Linked DNA regions of Homo sapiens: regions 1, 2 and 4 are each linked to region 3. Evidence: promoter capture Hi-C in 16 types of primary human blood cells and fetal thymus (Javierre and others, 2016). All regions are on one chromosome and are shown on one strand. The core of a region is centred on a gene start or on the middle of the fragment in contact, and the rest is flanking DNA. Distances in the headings are between cores, read along the strand shown. Region 1 overlaps MECP2 (methyl-CpG binding protein 2). Region 2 overlaps MECP2 (methyl-CpG binding protein 2). Region 3 holds the start of BCAP31 (B cell receptor associated protein 31). Region 4 overlaps MECP2 (methyl-CpG binding protein 2).

Region 1 (6,194 bases), core at 3,394-5,893, 370 kb after region 3:
AAGCGATTCTCCTGCCTCAGCCTCCCGAGTAGCTGGGACTACAGGTGCCCGCCACCATGCCCGGCTAATTTTTTGTATTTTTAGTAGAGATGGGGTTTTACCATGTTGGCCAAGATGGTCTCGATCTCTTGACCTCATGATCCACCCACCTCCACCTCCCAAAGTGCTAGGATTACAGGCGTGAGCCACCGTGCCCGGCCACAATTTTTTTTTTTTTTTAAAGAAACAGGTAATAGTGGCTGCCTCCAGGGAAAGAAATGAATGTTTGGGGCAGGGTAGCAGAGATACTTTACAATATAACTCTTTTTTTTTTTTTTTTGAGACGGAGTTCCGCTCTTGTCGTCCAGGCTGGAGTGCAACGGCATGATCTTGGCTCACTGCAACCTCTGCCTCCCAGGTTCAGGCGATTCTCCTGCCTCAGCTTCCCAAGTAGCTGGGACTACAGGCACGCACCACCACGCTTGGCTAATTTTTGTATTTTTAGTGGAGACGGAGTTTCACCATGTTGGCCAGGCTAGTCTCGAATTCCTGACCTCAAGTGATCAAGCTGCCTCAGCCTCCCAAACTGCTGGGATTACAGGCATGAGCCACCATGCCCAGCCCCATATAACTTTTTTCTATTATTATTTTTCTGAGATGGAGTCTCACTCTGTCGCCCAGGCTGGAGTGCAATGGCACGATCTTGGCTCACTGCAACCTCTGCCTCCTGGGTTCAAACGATTCTTCTGCCTCAGCCTCCCGAGTAGCTGGATTACAGGTGCATACCACCAAGCCCAGCTAATTTTTGTATTTTTAGTAGAAATGATGTTTCGTCATGTTGGCTAGGCTGGTCTCGAACTCCTGACCTCAGGTGATCCACCCACCTCGGCCTCCCAAAGTACTGGGATTGCAGGCGTGAGTCACTGTGCCCAGCCCCGTATAACTTTTTACACCACCTTTTTAATTCCGTATTGTCCATCTAACTATTCAAAAAATCATTTAAAAAACCCCGGCCTTATACAAGAAGTCTTTTCCTTAATCGTGTCATTTATTCTATCCCTCTTCCTTTAAGTAAAAAATATTTTCAATCAAAATCAGAATTCGACTTCAGCTTTGAGGGTATTTATTAGATTCAAATAATGCAATTTATAAAAATTACACTTGCTACCCTAAAAATATATTCACTAAAAGCCTTTTCTTTTTTTCTTTTTTCTTTTTTTTTTTTTTTAAAGAGACAGTGTCTTACTCTAAAGAACGAGGCTGCCCAGGCTAGAGTACAGGAGTACAGTGGTGTGATGATGGCTCACTGTAGCCTAAAACTCCTGGGCTCATGGGATCCTCTCACCTCATCCTCCCGAGTAGCTGGGACTACAGGCATGAGCCACCATGCCTGGCCCCTCTATTTTTATCAGGTGTTACAGAAAAGCTTCAAAATCATCATGGAAGAAAATTATCATTTTTACCAGTACAAAACTTTTATTGCATCCCAACCAAGCTAAGATGAATACAGAATTGTTTCAACAGAAGTTACCATTATCATAATTCAAGACAAAAATCAGCCGGCAATTACATGAGTTGGAAAACAAACTACTCTTATGTCACAGTCTACCCTAAAGCTCCAACTTATGTCAGAATTTAAAATACACACACATATACACAACCCTGTGGATTCCTCCTCATTTATGTAAAACCTACTTTTGTGATGATCTGCTATTTTCTTGAGTCTTCTGGAATGAACACTGTAGCCCCACTCCCGGATAAGGAGAAGATACCACTTCCAGGGCTTAGCACTGCCCCTGGCTTGAAGCAGATACTCAAATATTTGTTGGGTGAATGAATGATTGTCTGCTGATAGGGCTGCCCATCAAGCCTCATAAAGAAAAAATTCAGAAAAAAGCAACTTTATAGAGAAAATAGGAAAAAGTTTAAGAGATATTTTGCTCACTTGAAGAAATCAGCATTTGTTAAAGGTGAAGACTGGATTGACTGGTTCATCAAGTGGCTTAGACACAACTGACTAAGTGGGCTATACCTTATCCCACCCCAAAGTTAAATACAAAACAGGTATTTTTTTTTTTAATCACAGGAAAAACACAGGGCAACTTAACTATAAAATTATTATTTTTATTTTTTATTTTTGAGACAGAGCCTCACTCTATCGCCCAGGCAGGAGTGCAGTGGCGTGATCTTGGCTCACCGAAACTTCTGCCTCCTGGGTTCAAGCGATTCTCCTGCCTCAGTCACCCCAGTAGTTGAGATTACAGGTGCCCGCCACCACGCCTGGCTAATTTTTGTATTTTTAGTAGAGACGGGATTTCACCATCTTGGCCAGGCTGGTCTTGAACTCTTGACCTCAGGTGATCCACCCGCCTCAGCCTCCCAAAGTGCTGGGATTACAGGCATGAGCCACCGCATCTGGCCCTTTTGTATGTATTAAATACGTATGTATGAATATAATACATCATCAGGTTTTTTAGGAAGAAAATATAGATGACTATTGATCTGTTGTTAAGAGTAGGAAAGGATTTCCTGGCGGGGCGCGGTGGCTCACGCCTGTAATCCCAGCACTTTGGGAGGCAGAGACGGGCGGATCACAAGGTCAGGAGATCGAGACCAGCCTGGCTAACATGGTGAAACCCTGTCTCACAAATACAAAAAAATTAGCCAGGCGTGGTGGCGGGCGCCTGTAGTCCCAGCTACTCGGGAGGCTGAGGCAGGAGAATGGAATGAACCCGGGAGATGGAGCTTGCAGTGAGCCAAGATCACGCCATTGCACTCCAACCTGGGCGACAGAGCGAGACTCCGTCTCAAAAAAAAAAAAAAAAAAAAAAAAAAGAGTAAAAAAGGATTTCCTAAGTATGAAAGCAAAAGAATAAATCATAACATAAATTTTATATATCAGAAAGACAAGAATCAAGACGTAAGACAAAACAGGAAAATATCTGCATGACAAAGAGTTAACATCTTTAATACATTAAGAGCTATGACAATGATTATTGAGGTTTAGCCTCAGTAATAATCCAAGCGGCACCAATTTAAAAGATGTATATCCAATTCTGGGACGATATGGGAAAATGGCACTTTCTCAGACTGTTGTGGGAACTGGGATAGCCATTTTGGACAGTGATGTGGTGGTATCCACCAGAAATTCCAAGTCTAGGCAGCCATTCTTCAAAATGACTGGCACATGAGGAATTTCAATCCTGTAGCATTTTTAATAACATAGAGAGACAACGAAATGCATGACGGTAAGTCAGCCCTGGACTACACTGCTATTTAAAAGAAATGAGGCAGAGATGAATATATGAGATGGAAAAATGCAGAATATGTATATATAACACCATCCTGAGGCCAGGCACGGTGGCTCACGCCTGTAATCCCAGCACTTTGGGAGGCCAAGGCAGGTGGATCGCCTGAGGTCAGGAGTTCGACACCAGCCTGGCCAACATGGTGAAACCCATCTCTACTAAAAATACAAAAATTAGCTGGGTGTGGTGGCAGGCGCCTGTAATCCCAGCTACTCAGGAGGCTGAGGCAGGAGAATCACTTGAACCCAGGAGGTGGAGGTTGCAGTGAGCCAAGATTGTGCCACTGTACTCCAGCCTGGATGACAGAGCAAGACTCCATCTCAAAAAAAGAAAAAACAAAACAAAACAAAAACCCTCCTGTTAATTACAACACAAAAAGTACACAGTTTAGTCTTAGAAGACTTAGAAGGATCTACATTAAGCTATTAACAGCAGTTATTCTGGGTAGTGGGAGCAGAGATTAAGCGGGGAGCTTTCATTTTTTTACCTGATACTTTTTTTTTTTTTTTTTTTTGAGACCGAGTCTCACTCTGTCACCCAGGCAGGAGTTCAGTGGTGTGATCTTGGCTCACTGCAACCTCCGCCTCCCAGGTTCAAGTGATTCTCCTGCCTCAGCCTTCCGAGTAGCTGGGACTACACGCTCAAGCCACCATGGCCAGCTAATTTTTGTATTTTTAATAGAGATGGGGTTTCGCCGTGTTAGCCAGGCTGGTCTCGAACTCCTGACTTCAGGTGATCCACCCGCCTAGGCCTCCCAAAGCGCTGTGATTACAGGCATGAGCCACCTTGCCCAGCCACCTGATCAATTTTTAAGTGGTTTGATTTTTCTATAAATCCATGTATTATTTTAGTAATTCTTTAAAAAGTAAAAGAAGAAAAATAGATATCAAGCATTTATCTACTAAAGACGGGTACTGTCCTTTGAGAATTCCCTCAAAAGTTCTTTGAAGCTCAAATGGCTACATCTTTCCCATTCATAAGATACTTTTTAAATTTCCTCTTTCTACATTTCTTTTTAAAAGTTTATTTTCAATTAGCTTCCTCAGGTTGAACTCTCTGTACATTTCTTAGGAGAAACTGTATGGTGTCAACACTGCCTGTTTTATAACATCCATTCGTAATCTGTAATCTGAGAAAAAGACTCGTAAAAACCCAAACCACCCTCCAGGCCTAACATCTTCCAGAAGAAACCCATTCACTGCCCATATTACATTTAGTCCACACAATTTCTGAGACAAAGCACAAAGCACTAGCCATACAACTCCCACCAGCATAAATACGTGGAGTACAAAGAATGTCCTGTCAGCTGGGCCCAGAGCACACCCCACAGCAGTAAAAGAGAATGACAATTTGAGTCACAGGATCAGGAGCAGAATCAAATTTGGGACTTGAGGCAGTGTGATGCTCTTCTGGTCTTCCGCTTCCTTCCACACCTTCTATTCTCCTTCAGCCAAACCTTGCCCTCACATAATCCCTAAGCAGGCTATTTCTTATGGATGTCTACAACAGCTTCACACTGAGGTGTCAGAAACCACTAGAGAGACAACAAAGAACGACTTAGGGTCTCAGTCGGAATCACAATGGCCGCATAAGTGAAAACTCACATTTTTGCTTAGGGGAAAAAAAATGGGAAAATTCAATTGGAACATTCTGCTTTACCACACAGAAGTTCTGAAATCCACATGTCAAAACATCAAATGCGGAGTGACCACTAATCAAAAAGACAAAACAAAACAACAACAACAACAACAACAACAAACAGCTTGAGATGTTGAGCCTGAAGGTTGAGAAATTAAGGAACCATTCATTTTTACAAAACTAAAGTCCACACAATGGTGCCAAGTAGTTCAAACTGCAGCTGATACAGCACCTGAGTGTCAGACCTAGAATGACTGGGGCCCCCAGGTTTTTACAAAGTACTCATCCTCCTCTAGAGTCCCAAGAACCAGATGTATATCTGGGTACTCTCTTTAGTTACCATGGGAGGAGTGTAGCAAGCACATGACATTAGCCATGGCCCCCGGTGTTCTGAGACAGCTTTCAGGAGGGTGTCCTTCTAGGGAACCAACCACATACCAGTTCCCATATCTGAAAATGCATTACCACTGCTCACTAATGTTGACCACTAAGCCATTTACCCCAAACCAAAGCAAACACATGCTGAAGACCGCTAAGGCAACAGCAGCAGCGCAAAAGGGCTCAGTGCAAGCGCTCTCAGCTCAGCTGACCTGCTTCAAGGTGAACTGAAGTTGCAGATCACCAGTTCCGGCTCTAATCTGACGCCCGCCCCCAGATCACGCTGTGGCGACCAAGTAACCCTACACACACTGACCTTTCAGGGCTCAGGGAAGTGACTTTTTTTTATTATATGGCACAGTTTGGCACAGTTATGTCTTTAGTCTTTGGGGTACTTTTATACTGTCCAAGAGTAGTATATTTTTTTCCTCTTTTCCTTTTTTTTTTTTTTTTAAAAAAAAAAAAAACAGATGGCCAAACCAGGACATATACTAAAAAAAAAAAAAGGAAGGTTACTTACCTGAGCCCTAACATCCCAGCTACCATGGAATCCTGTTGGAGCTGGTCTACAGAAGCAAGGTGTATTCTGGGGAGTCACATGTCACATCAAAGCAGGAACTGGTGAGTCTGTATTTTTATGGAGCCTAAAACAAAGAAAATTGTAAGTTGAAAGCCCCCATTGAGCTGCACGACCTTTTTCCCAGGGCTATTTGGGACATTTTGAAGATAAACACATAGACAAAGTACTAGGCTATTTCCCAGCTTACCTAGCTAGAAACAAAGGATAAGCTGCAAATTACTGGCACGTAACACACAGTGCTAAAATAAAGGAAAGATTCATGCTTGTTAGAATCAACACTATCACAAGCCTTGTCACCTCTAGGGGACACT
Region 2 (6,524 bases), core at 3,101-5,600, 320 kb after region 3:
TTAGCAGAGACGGGGTTTCACCATGCTGGCCAGGTTGGTCTTGAATTCCTGACCTCAGGCGATCCACCCACCTTGGCTTCCCAAAGTGCCGGGATTACAGGCATGAGACACCACGCCTGGCCAAGACCCTGTCTCTTAAAAAAAAAAAAAAAGAAAAGAAAAAAGAAAAGAAACAAATTTAATTCTATATCAAATTGACAATATACCACAGAGAAAAGATTTATTTCAAATGACTTTTGACTACAGTGCTCTGCAAACCTGTAGTGGGACATATTCTAAGGCCAACAATAACACTCCAGGGGCAGTAAACACACTAGATTGGCTCCCAGGAGAGATATGTGATTCTGCTTCTGGGGCATCTTGTGCCAGAAAGCCCGGGGAGTGCAAGAGAAAAACAGGGAGGGCCCATGAGAGGCCTCTAGCAGTGGTCCAGGTGTGGCCCAGGGTGGGGGCAGTTGAGGATTTGGGGCTGGTCTAGGTGGTGAAGCAACAGAGCTCGCAGGTGGATTAGTGTGGGGGTGAGGGGCAAGGGTGAGTCAGGGACCATGTCCAAAGCCTGGGAAGATGGTGGTGCCACTGATTGAGAAGGAAAAGACTGAGGGGCCGGCTGGGTGCAGTGGCTCTCACCTGTAATCCCAGCACTGTGGGAGGCTGAGGCAGGTGGATCACCTGAGGTCTGGAGTTCGAGCCCAACCTGGCCAACATGGTGAAACTCCGTCTCTACTAAAAATACAAAAATGAGCCGGGCGTGGTGGCAGGTGCCTGTAAGTCCCAGCTACATGGAAGGCTGAGGGAGAAGAATCGCCTGAACCCAGGAGGCAGAGGTCGCAGTGAGCTGAGATCGCAAGACTCCGTCTCAAAAAAACAAAAACAAAAACAAAACCACTGGAGCGGCAGGGGAGCAACACCCACAGAGACAGTTATACCATCAAGGAGAGAAAACAGTTCTTCAGCTACTCGCTAGAAAGGGGGGAAACCCCGCTGTGATCAGATTCTGAGTTGGGCCTGAATGAAAATGAACTGTCTGCTTGGGGTTTTAAAGGCTTTTTATTGTGGTAAAATATACAAAACAGGTCAGGTGTGGTGGCTTACACTTGTAATCCCAGCACTTTGGGAGGTGAGGCAGGTGGATCGCTTGAGCTCAGGAGTTTGAGACCAGCCTGGGCAACATAGCAAAACCCTGTCTCTACAAAAAAAAAAAAAAAAAAAAAAAATTAGCTGGGCATGGTGGTGTGTGCCTGTAATCCTAGCTACTCGGGAGGCTGAGGCAGGAGGATCACTTGAGCCTAGGAAGTTGAGGCTGCAGTGAGCCGTTGATCATGCCACTGCACTCCTGCCTGGGCGAACAAACCAGACACATATATGTCTCAAAAAAAAATACATATATATATATATATATATATATATATATATATATATATATACACACACACACAAAACAAAGTTTACCTTTTTAACTATTTCTAAGTGTACAATGAATGAACTTTTTTTTTTTTTTTTTTGAGACGGAGTCTTGCTCTGTCACCCATGCTGGGGTGTGGTGGCGCAATCTCGGCTTACTGCATACAGGCTCTGCCTCCCTCCTGAGTTCAAGCGATTCTCCTGCCTCAGCCTCCCGAGTAGCTGAGATTACAGATGCGCACCACCACGCCCAGCTAATTTTTGTATTTTTAGTAGAGATGGGGTTTCGCCATGTTGGCCAGGCTGGTCTTGAACTCCTGACCTCAGGTGATCCACCCACCTGGGCCTCTCAAAGTGCTGGGATTATAGGTGTGAGCCACCATGCCTGGCCCTAAATGAACTTTTAAGAGCACTGAAGATGGGAAATAAAGGGTCTTTAACTCTACTGTAATATTCTAGTTCTTTCTAATGGAAATTACTTGAAGCAAATATAGTATGATGATTTTCAATTCTGTGCAATGAAAGGCACATGGGTGTTTGTTAATTTGCTGGCTGCTACTTTTATAATTAAAGACAAATTTCAAAAAACCCACAAAGAAGCCTGGATTGTGCTGGGTGTGGAGTGCAGGTAAAAATGATAAAAAACGTGGATGGAGCTGGAGTCCATTGTCTTCAGTGACACAGCTCAGACACAGAAAGTCAAATACCGTACGTTCTCACTTAGAAGCAGGAGCTGAATAGCATGTGCACATGGACAGAGTGAGGAATGGCAGACACTGGAGAGACTGGGAAGGGTGGGAGGGGGTGAGGGATGAGACATTACTTAACGGGTACAATGTCCACTATTCAGGTGATGGTTACACTGAAAGCTCAGACTTCACTACTATACAATATATCCACGCAACAAAACTGCACTTGTACCCTTTAAATTTAACAAATAAAAAACAATGATAGAAAACAGGTATTCCAAATGAGTTTACCCTTAGCCCAGAGGGCCTGCCCAGTCCCAGGGTGACCTGGGCATTTGCACACCCTCACTAAGCCTTCACTGCAGGACCCAAGGGAGGGAGGCTGGGCTAGGGTGCCAGGTGACTCCCCAAGGCTGTCCCCCAGGGGGTTTATGGTGTTTGCCGAAACACAAACTTTTTCAAAGAAACCTGCCAGGTGTGGTGGCTCATGCCTATAATCCCAGCACTTTGGGAGGCCGAGGCAGGTGGATCACCTGAGGTCAGGAGTTCGAGACCAGCCTGGCCAACATGGCGAAAACCCCATCTCTATTAAAAATACAAAAATTAGCTGGGCATGGTGGTGCATGCCTGTAATCCCAGTTACTCAGGAGGCTGAGGCAGGAGAATCACTTGAACCCAGGAGGCAGAGGTTGCAGTGAACCGAAATCGTGCCACTGCACTCCAGCCTGGGTGACAGAGTGAGACTCCATCTCAAAAACAAACAAACAAACAGAAAACAAAACAAAAAAAACCCCATACACCTCTCTTCATCCTCCCTCTAATCAGAACCCCCCACACACACACAATCTTGATTATGAGGAGAACTAAATAGCTAGTTCACAAGTTCATACATTTTACAGTTGAAGTATCCTCAGAAAAACCACCTATTCAACTCCTGAGTGTTACAGATGGAAAAAAAGAAGTTCGACTAGACAGAGGAACTTGTCTGAGATCACCGTGAGTCAAAAACACACGTGTCTGTTCACCAACTGCCTTCGTCCTGAGCCAGATCCTGCAGCATCCTTCCACCTCCAAGAACTCACAGTTTGGAAGGGAGGACAAATAGGTAACTACAACATAGTTCCAGCCTCCCTTCCCCCTGAAGAAAGCTTGCTCCAGGCACAGCGGAAGCACAGGGGTGTGGATAATGAATCAGGAGTGAGTGGGCTGTCAGGGCTTATGAGTTCCACAGGTGGGACAGAGGGCTCAGGGCATGCCAGGCCAGATGGGCAGAGGCGGCACTATCAACATGGTTATAGCTCCCACCCTATCACCCGTGTGACGCCCCTCCCTCGAGGAAAAAGTGACCAATGATGCCCACCCTGTGTCACCAGAGGCTCTGGGCCTAACCCTGTCACCCCCTCCCACCTTTTCATTTGGAGAACTTTCAGGTTCATCTGGAGAACTTTCATCTTTCAGGTTCAGTTAGGATGGCACTTCTAGACCGGGCGCAGTGGCTCATGCCTGTAATCCCAACACCTTAGGAGGCCGAGGTGAGCAGATCACTTGAGGCCAGGAGTTTAAGACCAGCCTGGCCAACATGGCAAAACTCCGCCTCTACTAAAAATACAAAATATTTGCCGGGTGTGGTGGTGTGCGCCTGTGGTCCCAGCTACTCGGGGACTGAGGCATGAGAATCGCTTGAACCTGGGAGGCGGAGGCTGCAGTGAGTTGAGATAGTGCCATTGCACTCCAGACCAGGCGATAGAACAAGATTCCACTTCCCAAAAAAAAAAAAAAAAAGATGGCACTTCTGAGACACCTTCCCTGCTCCTGCCTCCCTCCCTGCTCTATGAGCCAGGGCACCCGAGCCCTCAGTGTACTTAGAACACCCCACTGTGCGTGCCAACCCCCATCTCCCCGCTCAATGCATAATGCCAGGCACAGGTGCAACCCTTACTCAACACATGCTGGATGAATAACCACAACACGGACGCAGCGCTCCACGTGCTTCTTCTGATGGCTGGAGACCTTCGACCGTAAGCTTCTAGCAAGGAGAGGCTAGCTCAGTGCTGAAAAAAAGGTGGGCTCTGAATTGGTGAATAAACAAATGATGAGTTTGGGACATATCAGTAGTCCGTTGGACACTGGTGGCTTGGAGATGGCGGAAGATGAGGTGGAGGAAGTCACTGAGGAGGGCCTCAGTGCCCCAGGGACAGTAGCATGGAGGATGGTTACGCCAGAGGATGGATCGACTTCTAGCCATGTGGTGGTCAGGTATGCAGACACCTCTCCTGCTGAAACAACTACAACTGCCAAACTGAGTATCTTACAGAAGCTGCTAGAGAAGCCACCCACAAGCTGGCAAGAAAGGAAGGAATACACAGGCTGAAGAGCAAATAAAAGTACGGGGCCCTTTTCTGTGGAGAAATCTGGCAGGCACCACCTTAACACACGACCAAACTGAGCTCAGGCCCCTCAGTGCTGCTGAGATGAACCAGCATCACGAGTAGGAGACTGAAGCTTACCGTGAGGAGACAGCAGGAAGAGTCCAGAGAGGGCGTGCCATGCAACCACGGTCTGGACTCAAGATGATGAGAGAAAACAAGGGGGTGGGGGAACATTTCTGATAAAGGAGACTGAAGGGATGACACAATCGAATACAACACACAGTCCTGGACTCTGCATTCCAGGCTCAAAGGCTCTAAAAAAGGCATTTATGGGGTATGTGGAGAAATGTAAGGTTCTGTGTTAGCTCATTGCTAAACTTCCTGAGTGTCTTAACTGTACTGTCTGCTCTTAGGAAAGGCATGCTTAAACGTTTAGGAGTGAAACAGCACGAGGACTATGACTAACTCTCAAGTGATCAATGGGCTAGGGGAAATACAGTGCCAATATGGTAACATGTTTAAAAGAAGGGAGATGACATCAATATAATCAGAAGCTATGCCAACTGACAGTAATATTTTGAAGCAGTGGTAGGCAAGCTTTTTAACAATTAAAGAGAATGCCTTCATATTACACAAAGACATTAAGAAAAAAAGCTGAAGGCTGGGCACGGAGGCTCACACCTGTAATCCCAGCACTTTGGGAGGCTGAGGTGGGCGGATCACGAGGTCAGTTCGAGGCCATCCTGACCAACATGGTGAAACCCCCTCTCTACTAAAAATAAAAAATTAGCCAGGTGTGGTGGCGCGCACAAAGGGACCGGGGCGGTGCTGGCGGCGATGCCAACAGACCTCAGTGTACTGTGGGGTTCTTTCAGCCAGAACTGTTCATGGTTTCATCAGTGAGCTCCAGTTACCACACCACACAAGTTTGGAGTGATCCACCCCGCCCCAGTTTTTCCTGCACGAACTCATGTTTTTATTGTGTGATTTACAGAACACAAGATCTTTTTCTAAGAATGCACACATCACACGTTGAAGCAGAAAGGCCTTTACAAAATCTTAAAATACCTACAAAATATGAAGTAAGGCTCTTAAGAAATAAAATATTCAATGATTTTGCTGCTAGAATGCAAACATTAGATCAAATCCTTCATTTGATCTAGCAAAGGAAAATTAGAGTTGCAGGAATCTTGTTTTCAGGCCAAACCATGACATCCTGAGGGGTCTGATGGCAGGAACTGCCTGCATTTTCCTCATGAATGTGACCTGCAGTGATCTTGTGAGAAAGGCCCGGAAGGCCGTGCAAATTACAGGGGTACAAGCAACAGCTGGCAGGTGTGGCCAGACAGGCAACTGCAGTTAAGGAAAGACTACTCAATCCCTGAGGTTTTCAGATTTTACAAAAAGGCAAAAAAGCCAGGTGAACAAGGCAGATGAAAGGTATTTTTCACTTGAATTGGAATCCAGCCCCCTCCCTGTCCCCTGGAGTGAGCTCCAGAGAAACTTCCAGAGCCCCAGCAATATCCCAACCTTTCGTAAATTCACTCATGCTCGCCACTTTCAGGAGATGGCATTTCTCAGCACCTTTCACTTCCAGTTATCCCTCGGCACAGCACAAAGAGCTAAACTACCACTCGAGGCAGTTAACCTAAGGGCAGGGTGGTGGCTACAGCTCCAGGTGAACAGTCTGGGACCAGAGGAAATAATGAGCCCCCCCTTGTACTGGCTGCTTCCACCCTAAAGTGTCATCCAGATGGTGTTTCCAATTCTTTCTACTTCCAGTATTAGCTGCAGAATTACGGAATCAAGGAGGCTTCTCTGCATGAATCAATAAAGGCTATAGCACTTTGAGACACAAGCTTTGGCCCTTTAAAAATGTGAGAAATCAAACTGGCACAGGCAGAGTGTCTCAGTGGTCTCCAGGGAGCAAGAGAGAATGAGGTTCAGCTTGAAGGCTACAAGGGTGGAGCCTGAGGTTCAGCTGCCCTGCTCTGAATTCGCAGTCCATTTCTTAATCCTCCACTTTTGAGAAGATGCGAGAAACCAGTTATGTTTTGCTAAGCTT
Region 3 (6,695 bases), core at 4,196-6,695:
TGCCCCTTACCCTTCACTAGTACCTGTGACTAACACTTCTGTTTGAAGAAGGCTCTGCAGATCTTTCTAGATTATGCTTCTTAACATGGGAGTAGGAAGCAGCCAGTCATCATGGCCATATGTCCCCCTAGAACTTCCAAGCAGTTCCCCGATCCCAAAAAAGAATGAAGGCTTTGTCAACTACTGGATTCCGCAAAGGATCTCTCCAGCCCACTCAGCTGCTCTAGGAAAGAAACATACTCCTTCTGGTTTGGGGAAGGGGCAAGACCCTGAGGGAATCATCCTCAGCATGGTCCCTCCCCTCCCCAGTTATTACCCCCACCCCAGACCCAAAAGCCAAAACACACATGCTCAGTTCAAAAACTCAGTGGCCTGGGGATGACACATATATTACCTACCTACTCCTGGCTTGGAGGCTGCTCAGGGCGAGAACCCTGGTTAGAAAGAGCTACTACCTCTTGGGGCCTTGCCAAGTATTTCAAGAACACTGAGGTGCTCAGGCAGCTGGCACCTACCCTATGTGGTTGGAAGCTGTCAGGTAACACTTGGCCTGTTCAGAGGCAGTCCAGCCTGAACATATCCTATCAGGCTCTGAGACATCAGGAAGGAGAAATGCCTAATGCTGAAGCTGGTGGGTGAGGCTTTGCACATTCCCCTGAACCACAGCCCCCCACCCGCTCAGTGTTTCTGCTGGGACTCGGTGGGAGGAGTGTTCCACGCCTAGGCAGGCACCACAGCTCTGAGACAAGAGTGGTGTCCACAGCAGAGCCAAGCCAATACTTTGGAGCCCAAACAGGGGGACATATCGATCACTTACCACAGCAAAACAACAAACATCTACCAGTCAGACAAGAGCTTTATTGATTCTTGTCTCCAGATGGTCACCCTACCACCTCATTGCAAAATGTCTGCCTTTCATCTTACCACCACCTGGCCTGGCCTTATCCCAGAGCCTGCTTGCCCTTGGACCAGTTTATCTTTCAAGCACCTGCTAGTGTACACCTCAATGTCAGAGTTTACAGAACTACAGAGCTGGAACGACCTGGGAAAACCTCAAGTCTAGCCCAGATGCAGAGAGGTCTAGGATCTCTCCCCAAGATATGCTGCCACACATCTCTGTGTTCTCCTCCTACTACTACAGGGAATGGCAGGACTTCACTGTGTGCTTGGTTGCTCAGTCCCCCATTAGAGGCCCTGCTCCAGGCAATTCTGCTGTTTAAGTGACTGGTGAGCAGCACTACTCAGACCAAGGTCACAGGCCAGTTAGCTTCTCTTGGCTTCAGTTCTAGAGTGACCTGAGGAGCAGCCTCAGAAACCTTAGGCGTCCCTCCTTCCAAGGTCTTGAAAAAAAGCAATGTAAGGTGGCCGTCATAAGCTGCATACAAACTGCTTGGTATAAGCCCACGCCCACTGCTAGAGGGGCCTCTTTTTTTTTTTTTTGAGATGGAGTCTCCCTCTTGTTGCCCAGGCTGGAGTGCAATGGTGCGATTTAGGCTCACTGCAACCTCTGCCTCGTGGGTTCAAGCAATTCTCCTGCCTCAGTCTCCCAAGTAGCTGGGATTACAGGTGCCCGCCACCACGCCCAGCTAATTTTGTATTTTTCGTAGAGATGGGGTTTCACCACGTTGGCCAGGCTGATCTCGAACTCCTCATCTCAGGTGATCCACCGACCTCAGCCTCCCAAAGTGCTGGGATTACAGGCATGAGCCACCATGTACGGCCTAGAGGGGCCTCAAAGTGAAGAACCGACTAGCGGTCAGCAGCATGGGCAAAGGGAGCCTCTTCCCTCCCTCAAGAGAAAGACACAGCATTTCATTGGTCTGTCTCCTAGCAGCCAAAACTGGATGCTACACATCAAAAGTGGCAAAGGGTTTTGCAGCAGAGACCAGGGTCTAGGTCAGGTAGCTGCCCTCAGCCATAGCTCACTCACCGATGACCAACAGCACAAGGATGACAATGAGAACCACAAAGAAGGTGTTGCCATAGGACACTAACAACTCCACCAGCCGGGACTTGAAAATCTTCTGCCATCTGTGAAGAAGACAAAAAGGACAGGAGTTGAAGAGAAAGCACACACACGAGCTCTAGGGCCCTGAGCAAAATGGAAATCCAGCTTTGTACTCTTCTCCAATGGCCGAATAGCCCATGCAAAGTCAGCCTCAGTGGCTTGCAATTCTCTAATTTGACATCCATTCAAGACTATTGGAAAAAAGGCCAGGTGCAATGGCTCACACCTGTAATCTCAGCACTTTGGGAGACCAAGGTGGGTGGATCACTTGAGGTCAGGAGTGCAAGACCAAACTGGCCAACATGGCGAAACCCTGTCTCTACTAAAAGTACGAAAATTAGCCAGGCGTGGTGGTGGGCACCTGTAATCCCAGCTACTCAGGAGGGTGAGGCAGGAGAATCACTTGAACCTGGGAGGCGGAAGTTGCAGTGAGCCGAGATCGCGCCACTGCACTCCAGCCTGGGTGACAGAGCGAGACCTTGTCTCAAAAAAAAAAAAAAAAAAAGATGCTGGTCCACGTATAGATCAAAATGTCTGGAAAACTAATCTTTTTTTTTTTTTTTTGAGACAGAGTCTTGCTCTGTTGCCCAGGCTGGAGTGCAGAGGTGTAAGCCACCGCGCCCAGCCTGGAAAACTAATCTTAAACGTGGGCAGTTGGCTGGGCGCACTGGCTCACGTCTGTAAACCCAGCACTTTGGGAGGCTGAGATGGGCAGATCACCTGAGGTCAGAAGTTCAAGACCGGCCTGGCCAACATGGTGAACTCCCATCTCTACTAAAAATATATATATAAAAAAAAATTAGCTGGGCATGTTGGCAGGCACCTGTAGTCCCAGCTACTCGTGAGGCTGAGGCAGGAGAATTGCTTGAACCCGGGAGGTGGAGGCTGCTGTCAGCCGAGCACCACACCACTGCACTCCAGCCTGGGTGACAGAGCAAGACTCTGTCTCAAAATAAAAACAAAAACAAACAAAAAAACCACAACAACAAAAAGAAAACATACTGGTAGTCTCTGAAAAGGGAAACTTACTTTTCATTGTACTCCCCTTTGTAATATTCAAATGTTTGCCCCATACACGTTATTTCTTTAAACTGTCTTTCCACATGATAAACCTTGGTTTGTCTATATCCCCCGACCCTGTTATGATGAGATGGACCCCAGACCTCACATCATTTCCATCCACAAATGCTTTGGGATGCAGCTCTAAGAAGAGACTTCAGAAGTGTTTACATATTGTTCAAATCAACAAGAAGCCCTCATCATCAGGGCTAGAGTTGAATATGCCAATCACTGAAGGCAATGATATTTGTTTGAATCCGGACCCAACAAGGTACCGATTTGGCATTCGGTAGATAAACGTCTTAAATCCAGCTTATTCTGGAAGCTCCCCCTTCCCTCTCCCTCTTTCATTTGCTTTTCCAGTTTCCTTTGTGTAGAAATCAGATTGTCTGTCCTCTAAAGCTTCCCAGATTAAAGCTCCCCGGGGCCCTCTATCTCTGCACGTCTTGTCAACTGTACGAAGGTGTGGTTTTCTACAAGAATCCTCCTCAGACAGCACTGCATACTTTCTATGGTATCACATCAAAGATAATTTTTCACGAAAAAACGGCTTTTAAAAATACCTGTGGAGATTTGGCCTTATTTGTAATATCGTAATTTAAATAGGGATGTGTTCAGGTATTATACATAATTAAAATTAATCTCCAATTCACTTTTAACAGGTCCTCTGTTCATTAAAAGGGAATATGGCTTCATCCTCCACAGGCTGAGTAATGTTCATGCAGCCACTGCGCAATACCAGTGAGACTAGTTAGGAGGACAAGAGTCACCAAATCAGCAACAACGTGACCCAGTGGTGCAAGTCTTCCGAATCCCACGCTACCATCCCAGCACCCCGTGGACCAAGAGTGGGTGGGAGGGCATCATTTCCAGAACTGTAACATAGATCTTCCTGCCTCTCGGGGGCATTCTGAAGACCAGAAGGCAGGGGACACAGGAAAAGGAACTGAGCAAGTCATGACGAAGCAGAACCCTGGGAAGGGTTGGCAATAACAAACACAACCCCTGCCACCCCCACCCCAGACAGGTTCTACCTGTTCCATCGGGTCCCAATTCCAGGGTCCACCAGCTGCACACACCAGTCCCAGGGCTAGGGCACAGGCACCCTCCTGCCTAACTCGCCTGCTTGCTCCATAGGCCATACCTTTTAGGAGAAATGAAGGGAATGCAGAGAAGCAACACAACAAAGACCTCCGCATAGAGGAAGGTGGCAACTGCAGTCCACTGCAGACTCATCCTGTTGCTAGAAGGTTTCCCACAGGAAGATGTGAGCTTGTTTCCTGGCAGGGCACAAAAGGTACGGGACTTGTAAGCGCTGGGCAGCCAAGAACATCCAGTTCAGTTACCCTGCGAGGCTGGGGCCGCCACTCTCCACCCTGACCCCCTGCACTTTGCTTCAAAGTCTCTGATGCGCTGGCGGAAGCAGGGCTCCACTCGGCAGGGCCTCTTGGCCAGCAGCGTTCACAGGCCCCACAAACTTCCGTTCGCTGGTCAATTACCTGCCCCCTCCAGCACGTGTGTCAACACGTCCAGAGCGGCCTCTCCCGACGATCCCTGCCCCAGGAAGCCCGAGATTTCCGACGCCCGTTTAACTGAAAGGCGTTCTTCGGGAAGAGCAGTGCCAGGGCACCAAGAGGAGGACGCCTCGGCACCCATCGGGCGCTCCCTTCCCCGCCAGGCAGAACTCAGCCGCAGAGGCGGGCGCTCTGCGGGCCCAAATCCCCGCTACCAGGCAGGCCCAAGGCCGCACCTAGTCCAAGCGCTGCCGACGCCCCCGCCTCCCACCGTCCCCACGGCGCCCGCGGAGAGAAACCGGCACCTCCCTCGAGGATCCAGCGGCCTTCCGCCCGGGGCCGCTTCGCCTCCGGTGGGCTGGAGGCCCGCAAGAGCGACTCCTAGAGGGCAGGATTCGGGACCAAGCGCAAAGGCAGGTCTCGACCAAGCACCTCAAGGCCCCATACGGAGAAAGTTCTAGACGCAGTATCCTCAGAAGCCAGGGGTCCTTACAGTAGCCCTCGCGGGCCCCAGCGCCCACCCAGAGCGAGGGGCCTCCGACTTGGCCCCGGCCTGGCACACCGTCCCGGAGGCCCATCCCGGCCGCTCCTCCAGGTGGGGCTTCACCGCCCCCCGCCCCGCCCCCGAGACCAGCTTCTAGAGGCGCCGCCCGGTTTCCCCTCGCCCCTGCCTCTCACACGCAGGTAGGCTGCGGGCCCCGAGATTCCCCGGCCCCCGGGCCTCCCCGCGCCGCTCGCCTCTCTCCCTCGTCGATGGGCCGGGGAGCCTCCGCGGTCCCGGAGCCCAGCCCGGCGCGCGGAGCCCGCTCACCGAGTTTCCCACAGTCAACGTGCAGGCCCCGCCGCAGCAACAGAACTCTCCCACAGCAGCCCCGGCCCCGCCCCTCATACCGCGGCCGGAAACCGGAAGCGCCCGCCGGGCACCGCCCACCAGCCCTCGCGAGGCCCCGGAGGCTCCGCCCACCTCCGCTTCCCACCCCGCCCCGGAGCGGAGGGCCGGCGCTCCGAGCGGGAGAGGAAGAGGCGCCTCGGGCTCCGGGCGAGCAGGGCGGGGTGGAGCGAGCACGCGGGCGGGGCGGGGCGGGGCTTTGTCGGGCCGGCGAGGGCCGCTTCTCTAGTCCGCGCGGCCGTCCCACGTCTCTGTGGTGCGGGAGGGGCCCCGCCGAGGGGCGAGAACGGGAGGTGGGGGTGTGGGCGGGCCCCGCCGAGGGGCGAGAACAGGGTGGGGCTCCCGCGCCCGGACTCCGCCCCTCGCCCCTCCTCCGCCTCCTCCCCTTCCCCCGACTCGCCCCTGGGGAAGAGTGGGTGGGGATTCTGGGCCGGTGGAGGAGTCACTGTCGCTTCAGCCAGGCTGCGGAGCGGACGGACGCGCCTGGTGCCCCGGGGAGGGGCGCCACCGGGGGAGGAGGAGGAGGAGAAGGTGGAGAGGAAGAGACGCCCCCTCTGCCCGAGACCTCTCAAGGCCCTGACCTCAGGGGCCAGGGCACTGACAGGACAGGAGAGCCAAGTTCCTCCACTTGGGCTGCCCGAAGAGGCCGCGACCCTGGAGGGCCCTGAGCCCACCGCACCAGGGGCCCCAGCACCACCCCGGGGGCCTAAAGCGACAGTCTCAGGGGCCATCGCAAGGTTTCCAGTTGCCTAGACAACAGGCCCAGGGTCAGAGCAACAATCCTTCCAGCCACCTGCCTCAACTGCTGCCCCAGGCACCAGCCCCAGTCCCTACGCGGCAGCCAGCCCAGGTGACATGCCGGTGCTCTCCAGGCCCCGGCCCTGGCGGGGGAACACGCTGAAGCGCACGGCCGTGCTCCTGGCCCTCGCGGCCTATGGAGCCCACAAAGTCTACCCCTTGGTGCGCCAGTGCCTGGCCCCGGCCAGGGGTCTTCAGGCGCCCGCCGGGGAGCCCACGCAGGAGGCCTCCGGGGTCGCGGCGGCCAAAGCTGGCATGAACCGGGTATTCCTGCAGCGGCTCCTGTGGCTCCTGCGGCTGCTGTTCCCCCGGGTCCTGTGCCGGGAGACGGGGCTGCTGGCCCTGCACTCGGCCGCCTTGGTGAGCCGCACCTTCCTGTCGGTGTATGTGGCCCGCCTGGACGGAAGGCTGGCCCGCTGCATCGTCC
Region 4 (6,230 bases), core at 3,043-5,542, 330 kb after region 3:
GTTTGTTTGTTTTTTTAGATAGGTTCTCACTCTGTTGCCTGGGCTATAGCAGTAGTGTGATCACACCTCACTGCAACCTCGACCTCCAGGTTCAAGCAATCCTCCCACCTCAGCCTCTCAAAGTGCTGGGATTCCAGGCATGAGCCACCATGCCTGGCCTCCAATTTGTATTTAATGCCACTGAACTGTACATTTAAAAATGGTAAATTTTAGGTGATGTGTATTTTACTACAATTTTTTTAAAAGTCTAAGAGAAGGCAAGAAAGGAGAAGGAAAATTTAAAAGAACAGAAAATATGGAAAAATAGAATGCACAAATATGCTATAAATGAATCTAAATACATCAGAAATCAAATAGATGTTAAAGGACGAAACAGACAATGGATTTTTTAAAAAATCTCGAGGCCGGGTGCGGTGGCTCACGCCTGTAATCCCAGCACTTTGGGAGGCTGAGGCGGGCGGATCACGAGGTCAGGAGATCGAGACCATCCTGGCTGACACGGTGAAACCCCGTCTCTACTAAAAATACAAAAAAAAAAAAAAAAAAAAAATCAGCCACGCGTGGTGGCGGGCACCTGTAGTCCCAGCTACTCTGGAGGCTGAAGCAGGAGAATGGCATGAACCCGGGGGGCGGAGCTTGCAGTGAGCCGAGATCGCGCCACCGCACTCCAGCCTGGGCGACAGAGCAAGACTCCGTCTCAAAAAAAAAAAAAAAAAAAAAATCTAGCTATCAGCTGGGCATGGTGGCTCACGTCTGTAATTCCAACACTTTGGGAGGCTGAGGCGGGTGATCAGCTGAGGTGAGGAGTTTGAGACCAGCCTGGCCAACATGGTGAAACCACATCTCTACTAAAAATACAAAATTAGCCGGGTGTGGTGGCACGTGCCTGTAGTCCCAGCTACTCAGGAGGCTGCGGCAGGAGAATTGTTTTGAACCTGGGAGGTGGAGGTTGCAGTGAGCCGAGATCACGCCATTGCACTCCAGCCTGGGCAACAAGAGCAAAACTCCGTCTCAAAAAAAAAAAATCTAGCTATCTGACATTTTCAAAAGCTCCACCTCACTGATGCATAAAGACACAGAAAGGAGGAAAATAAAAAACTGGGATGGCCGGGCGTGGTGGCTCACACCTGTAATCCCAACACTTTTAGAGGCCAAGGCTGGTGAACTGCTTGAGCCCAGGAGTTTGAGACCAGTCTGGGCAACATGGCAAAACCCTGTCTCTACTAAAAATACAAAAACTTAGCCAGGCGCGCTGGTGCAAGCCTGTAATCCCAGCTACTCAGGAGGCTGAGGTGGGAGGACCACTTGAGCCCAGGAGGCGGAGGTTGCAGTGAGCTGAGATTGCACCACTGCACTCCAGACTGGGTGACAGAGGGAGACCCTGTCTCAAAAAAAAAAAAAAGAAAGAAAAATAAATAAAATAAATAATAATTTAAAAAAAAATAACATATTAGTATGGTCGCTTCATAATACCAAAGGGTTCAATACACCAGGAATGTGAAACTGTATCTAAAACTGAAAATGTGGCCTCAAAATAAATAATAAAATGAAAATGACCAAACTCTGTGGAGAAACTGATGTGTCCATCACCACAGTAGGTTTTAACACGTATTCCATCAGTTGATAAATCAAGTAAACAAAATGACAGTAAGAAGAGAAAATACTTTCACAACAAACGGATAAGACAGAGGTAATGAATATATGTAGAATCCTGCACCCATGCTTGGTGGTGACATATTCTGTCCACTGGTTGTGGATAATGTGTCATGGAGCACTTCTCAACCAACTGCAAGAACTGGTGTCACACAGACCAAGTTCTTTGATCACAGTGCCATTTAGTTAGAAGTTGATTTTTTCTTTTTTTCTTTTTTTTTTTTGAGACGGAGTATTGCTCTTGTTGCCCAGGCTGGAGTACACTGGCACAATCTTGGCTCACTGTGACCACTGCCTCCCGGTTCAAGTGATTCTCCTGCCTCAGCCTCCCGAGTAGCTGGAACTACAGGTGTGTGCCACCATGCCCGGCTAATTTTGTATTTTTAGTAGAGACGAGGTTTTGGCATGTTGGCCAGGCTGGTCTCGAACTCCTGACCTCAGGTGATCTGCCCGCCTCGGCCTCCCAAAGTGCTGGGATTACAGGCATGAGCCACCTCATGCAGTCAATTTTTTTTTCTAGAGCAACTAGGAAAAAAAAAAAACAAACCCAAAGCCATGTGCTTGGAAATTGAAAAACACATTTTAAAATAATATGTGAGTCAAAGGAAGAAACAAAGAAAATTTAAAATATCTTTGGGCTAACTTAAAGTGACAATACTATCAGAACTTGCTAGATACAGTTGAAGTAGTTCCAGAGGGTTAGCCTTAAATGTTTACATTTGAAAAAAGGGTAGAAAAATCAATGAACCAAATTTATAACTTAAGAAGTTAGGGCCAGGCGTGGTGGCTCATGCCTGTAATCCCAGCACTTTGGGAGGCCAAGGCGGGTGGAGCACCTGGCGTCAGCAGTTCGAGACCCGCCTGGTCAACATGCCAAAACCCCATCTCTACTAAAAATACAAAAAATTTGCCGGGTGTGGGGCAAATGCCTGTAAATCTCAGCTACTCGGGAGGTTGAGGCACGAGAATCACTTGAACCCAGGAGGTGGAGGTTGCAGTGAGCTGAGATTGCACTACTGCACTCCAGCCTGGGCGACAGAGCAAGACTCTCTCTCTCAAAACAAAAAACAAACAACAACAACAACAACAACAAAACACAGAGAATGTACTCTAAGACCATAGAAAAAATAATAAAGATAAAAGCAAAAGCAGAATTTAATGAACTAGAAAAGAGACACAGAGTAATACAGGGCAATAATGCCTACATGTCTGCTTCTTGTAAGACCAATGAACCTAATGAGCTTTTACCAAGACAAGGAAAAACGGGAGAAGGTACAAGTAAACAACAAACACTAGGAATGAAAAAGCAGACATAATTACAGATGTTGCAAATGTATAAACTATAACATGAACAACTTTATGCTAGTCAGACAAAATGGACAAATTCCTAGAAAAAAAAATTTAACAGCTTACAGTAGCCCAAGCAGGTGCAGGGAAAATAAAAATAGGTTTAGATGTGTCTGCGTGTACATAGAACACCTCAAAAGACACAGACAAGACCCTGGATGCAGCCGTTCCCTGAAGAGAGGCCTAGGCAGCTGGGAGACCAGGGCAGCAGGGACACTCAGACCTTGCATCACTCTGGAGTTTGCACTTCCTGAATTGTGAAGCATGCACATGTCTCACTTATGCAACAGTGAATCCAAACGTGCCTGTATACAAGGAAAGGCCTCACCTGGCTGCGCCGTGGAGGCTGGCCTGGCGTGTGGAGCAGGCAGAACATTAGCAAGCTACCGAGCAGGTGCAGGTATGAACATCAGCTGACGCTGGCTCTTTGCTTTCTTTTTAATCTTGACAAATTTGGTAGGTGAAAAGGCATCATTTTTGTTCTCGTTTGCATCTCTTTGATTACCAGCAGGCAGAACTCTTTTCCTATCTTCATTGGCCATCTGTATCTCTTCTTTTATGAATTTCCTGTTCATAGTCTTTGTTCATTAGTGGTGACTAGTGGTAAGTTAGCAATAAGAACTGTTTGCATTCAAGTCTAGACTGAGAAGGAAATTAAAAAATCTGCCCATGTATTCTCACAATAAATGACTACTGACTAGCCTGAGATAATTGTACCCACTGCCCAGTCACAGGCATTAAGCCTAGGATGATTCATTTCAGACTTGTCCCTGACCTTCCTCATACCCTTTCCAGAAGGGCCCCTTGAGCTGCTATGATACTCCTAAATCACTATCCCATTACCCAAATGATGGAGAGCCAATCAAAAGCTTAGACCAGGACGCTTTCCCAAATTATGTCCCAATACCTTCACAATGATCACTTTATATACAATCTCACTGAATGCTCAGCAACACACGAGAGCAATGTTTAACTGAGGGCAACACTGAGGCTCAAGGAGGGCAAGTGACTTGATTGCTGAGGTCACCTGCTAGGTGCAAGAGCTGAGAATTAATCCCAAGGCTACCTGGCTCAAAAAGCCTAAGCTCATCTACTATACTTGAGGCGAAATCATGAAAGTGTGTTTTTACCTTGCCCAGACCCTGCACACTGCATCAAGGTCCTGAGTTTCAAGCAACAGAAATCAACTCTGGTTAAATTCAATCACAAAGGAGTTCTTGGGCAGCAGATCTGGAAATGGAGAGAGAACTAGAGAACTAGGCTCAGAAAAGCAGCAGGAATAGAGGCTGCACCACTGCAAACACAGCCAAGGTTATACTGCAGGGACCTGCTGGTTGGGACACCCACCCTGGGCACTGTTGCATGTCATCACTGGACATTAGCCACCACTGCTGGTTTTGTGACTCAACTGCCACCACCATGACTAATCCCTCACTGTCCCTCAAGAGTCAAAGTCCCTGAAGGCAGAATGGGTTTGGCCAAACCTAGGCTTCATCGCCATCCCCTAGTTTCCAGAGAGCAAGGGGAGGGAATATATCCATTCCCCTGTGGCAGGCACTGCCAGTTGTCCCCCAACATCCATGTTCTCCATCTGCCTTACTAATGAGACCCTGCGCTCAGCTAAGGAGAGTTATTCCCCGCTTCCCAGCAGACCATGGGACTACGTTATGGCTAAGGAGACAGTGGCCGAGTGCACTCCTGTTCATCGTTCTCTTTCAAGCTTGCTCTTGTTCTACTGACTATGGGCGGAGCACACCTCCCACCCACTGACTCTGGGCTTGCTCACGTGTTGATGGGATGGGGGAAGAAGAGGCTTTAAGAGGCTTCTGTGACTCTGCTCACTCCTCTTGGACTCCTGACCTCCGCCTACGAAGAGACTTCCCCTGGCAGCTGCTTCTCCCTCCTGGGTCCTGGAACGACAGGCTTGAGAACAGATCTGAATCCCATCTTGCAGCTGACCCAGACCCATGTGTGAGAAATAATAATTGCTGTTATAGCTACTGAGCTGCTGGTGCTGTTTGTTCCCTAGGACAAGATGATGGGTGTGAAGATGGAAATGGAAATATTGAATGGGCCTAGAAGTTAAGATGTCAAGTGCCATTTTGCCTTTCCCCTATGACCTCTTTCTTCCTACCTGGAGGAGTGGATGCAATGACTAGAGCAGCAACCGTCATCTCACAACCAAGAGGCAATCTTGAGAAATGGAAGACACCCACTGAGGGGCCCTGGGTCCTGGATCCTTACAAAGCCACTGCAGTGGTCATGGACAGCATGAGAAGGAAGTACACCACAGGCCCCCAACCCCATCTTCAGGTTTTCTTAGGTAGAAACTAGGGTCCACCTGCCTCTTACTAAGATATACACAATGGGGAGACTTTTAACACAAAAAAAGGTATGAAGATGGTCAGAAGCCAAAAAAGCAACAAAATGTTCATGATATGCCGTATGTGGGGTTTACTCACTACACTGCTTTTCCACCGAGTTAGCATAATCACTATAACTCAACCCATTGAAAAAATGACAAAACAGATTCTGAGATTCTCTTCCTATTTCTGTTAGCTAAAAAAGCAGCCTTTGAATTGTTTATAAGTGAATTCAAGAGATAAAAATAAACCCAGATAATTCAGAATGTACTGAGTACAACACATATGCCTTCTATGTGATAAGCTCCCAGCATTATTTATTCAAAGAAAACTTGCCTTGTTGCAAAAATATAAAAAAACTTAAAAAAAAAAAACAAGTAATTACACAACACACCACCTCCTACAACACCAGATTCCTTTTCTTTCCTTTGTAACCTGACCAGAAGAAAAACAAAACATTGTTCAAATTGCTGAGACCCACAAAGTTCAATTAGAGCATAAAAAATGCTCTCCCAAAATATAGCTACTAGCAGGGAAATGAGCAGGCTAAGCCTCCTGGTGAACCTGGACATTGGGCACAAGTAACAGGCACATTTAGACACCAACGACCAGATTCCACATGACTGAATCCAGAAACCCTGCCCCTTCCCATTCCCTTGGAGATCCAGGGGGACGCCATCAATTGCTCACTCCTTCTCCTTACACATACAGTTAGGGGTGCTATACTATACAGGGGAAGGCGTGAGGAAGTCACACATGCTTTGGTGTTCAAGAAGCTCATAAAGCCATTAGGGAAAGAGCAACATGCCAGAAAGCAGTTGTCTCTTCTGGCTACAGAGGTTGCAAAAGACGTCTGCAAGGGTCAGT

What was found. Contacts are between HindIII fragments. The CHiCAGO score rates a contact against its expected background, and 5 or more counts as called.
Region 1: a contact is called between a fragment that was not itself captured here and the fragment with the promoter of BCAP31 in region 3, in 2 of 17 cell types (M0 macrophages and fetal thymus). The highest score is 6.1, in M0 macrophages.
Region 2: a fragment that was not itself captured here is called in contact with the fragment with the promoter of BCAP31 in region 3 in 1 of 17 cell types (M0 macrophages); the score reaches 5.1 in M0 macrophages.
Region 4: a contact is called between a fragment that was not itself captured here and the fragment with the promoter of BCAP31 in region 3, in 1 of 17 cell types (naive B cells). The highest score is 5.5, in naive B cells.

The regions. Positions count from the first base shown.
Region 1 is chrX:154,086,361-154,092,554 of GRCh38, forward strand. All of the region lies in intron 1 of MECP2 (methyl-CpG binding protein 2), which reads right to left. Among named protein-coding and RNA genes, the nearest start is that of MECP2, 8.3 kb to the right of the region's middle. The HindIII fragment of the contact is 6,480 bases long and covers 1,404-6,194 here.
Region 2 is chrX:154,035,763-154,042,286 of GRCh38, forward strand. The region is part of intron 1 of MECP2 (methyl-CpG binding protein 2); the gene reads right to left. Among named protein-coding and RNA genes, the nearest start is that of MIR718, 19 kb to the left of the region's middle. RefSeq lists enhancers at 142-707, 5,286-5,786. The HindIII fragment of the contact is 479 bases long and covers 4,112-4,590 here.
Region 3 is chrX:153,718,942-153,725,636 of GRCh38, forward strand. It overlaps BCAP31 (B cell receptor associated protein 31), which reads right to left and starts at 5,446. Exons shown (of 8, transcript NM_001256447.2): 1 at 5,393-5,446; 2 at 4,212-4,347; 3 at 1,931-2,031. The coding sequence starts at 4,303. It overlaps ABCD1 (ATP binding cassette subfamily D member 1), which reads left to right and starts at 5,915. Exons shown (of 10, transcript NM_000033.4): 1 at 5,915-6,695. The coding sequence starts at 6,326. RefSeq lists silencers at 4,725-4,904, 5,115-6,074 and an enhancer at 6,535-6,695. The HindIII fragment of the contact is 9,880 bases long and covers 3,468-6,695 here.
Region 4 is chrX:154,053,613-154,059,842 of GRCh38, forward strand. The region is part of intron 1 of MECP2 (methyl-CpG binding protein 2); the gene reads right to left. Among named protein-coding and RNA genes, the nearest start is that of MIR718, 37 kb to the left of the region's middle. The HindIII fragment of the contact is 851 bases long and covers 3,868-4,718 here.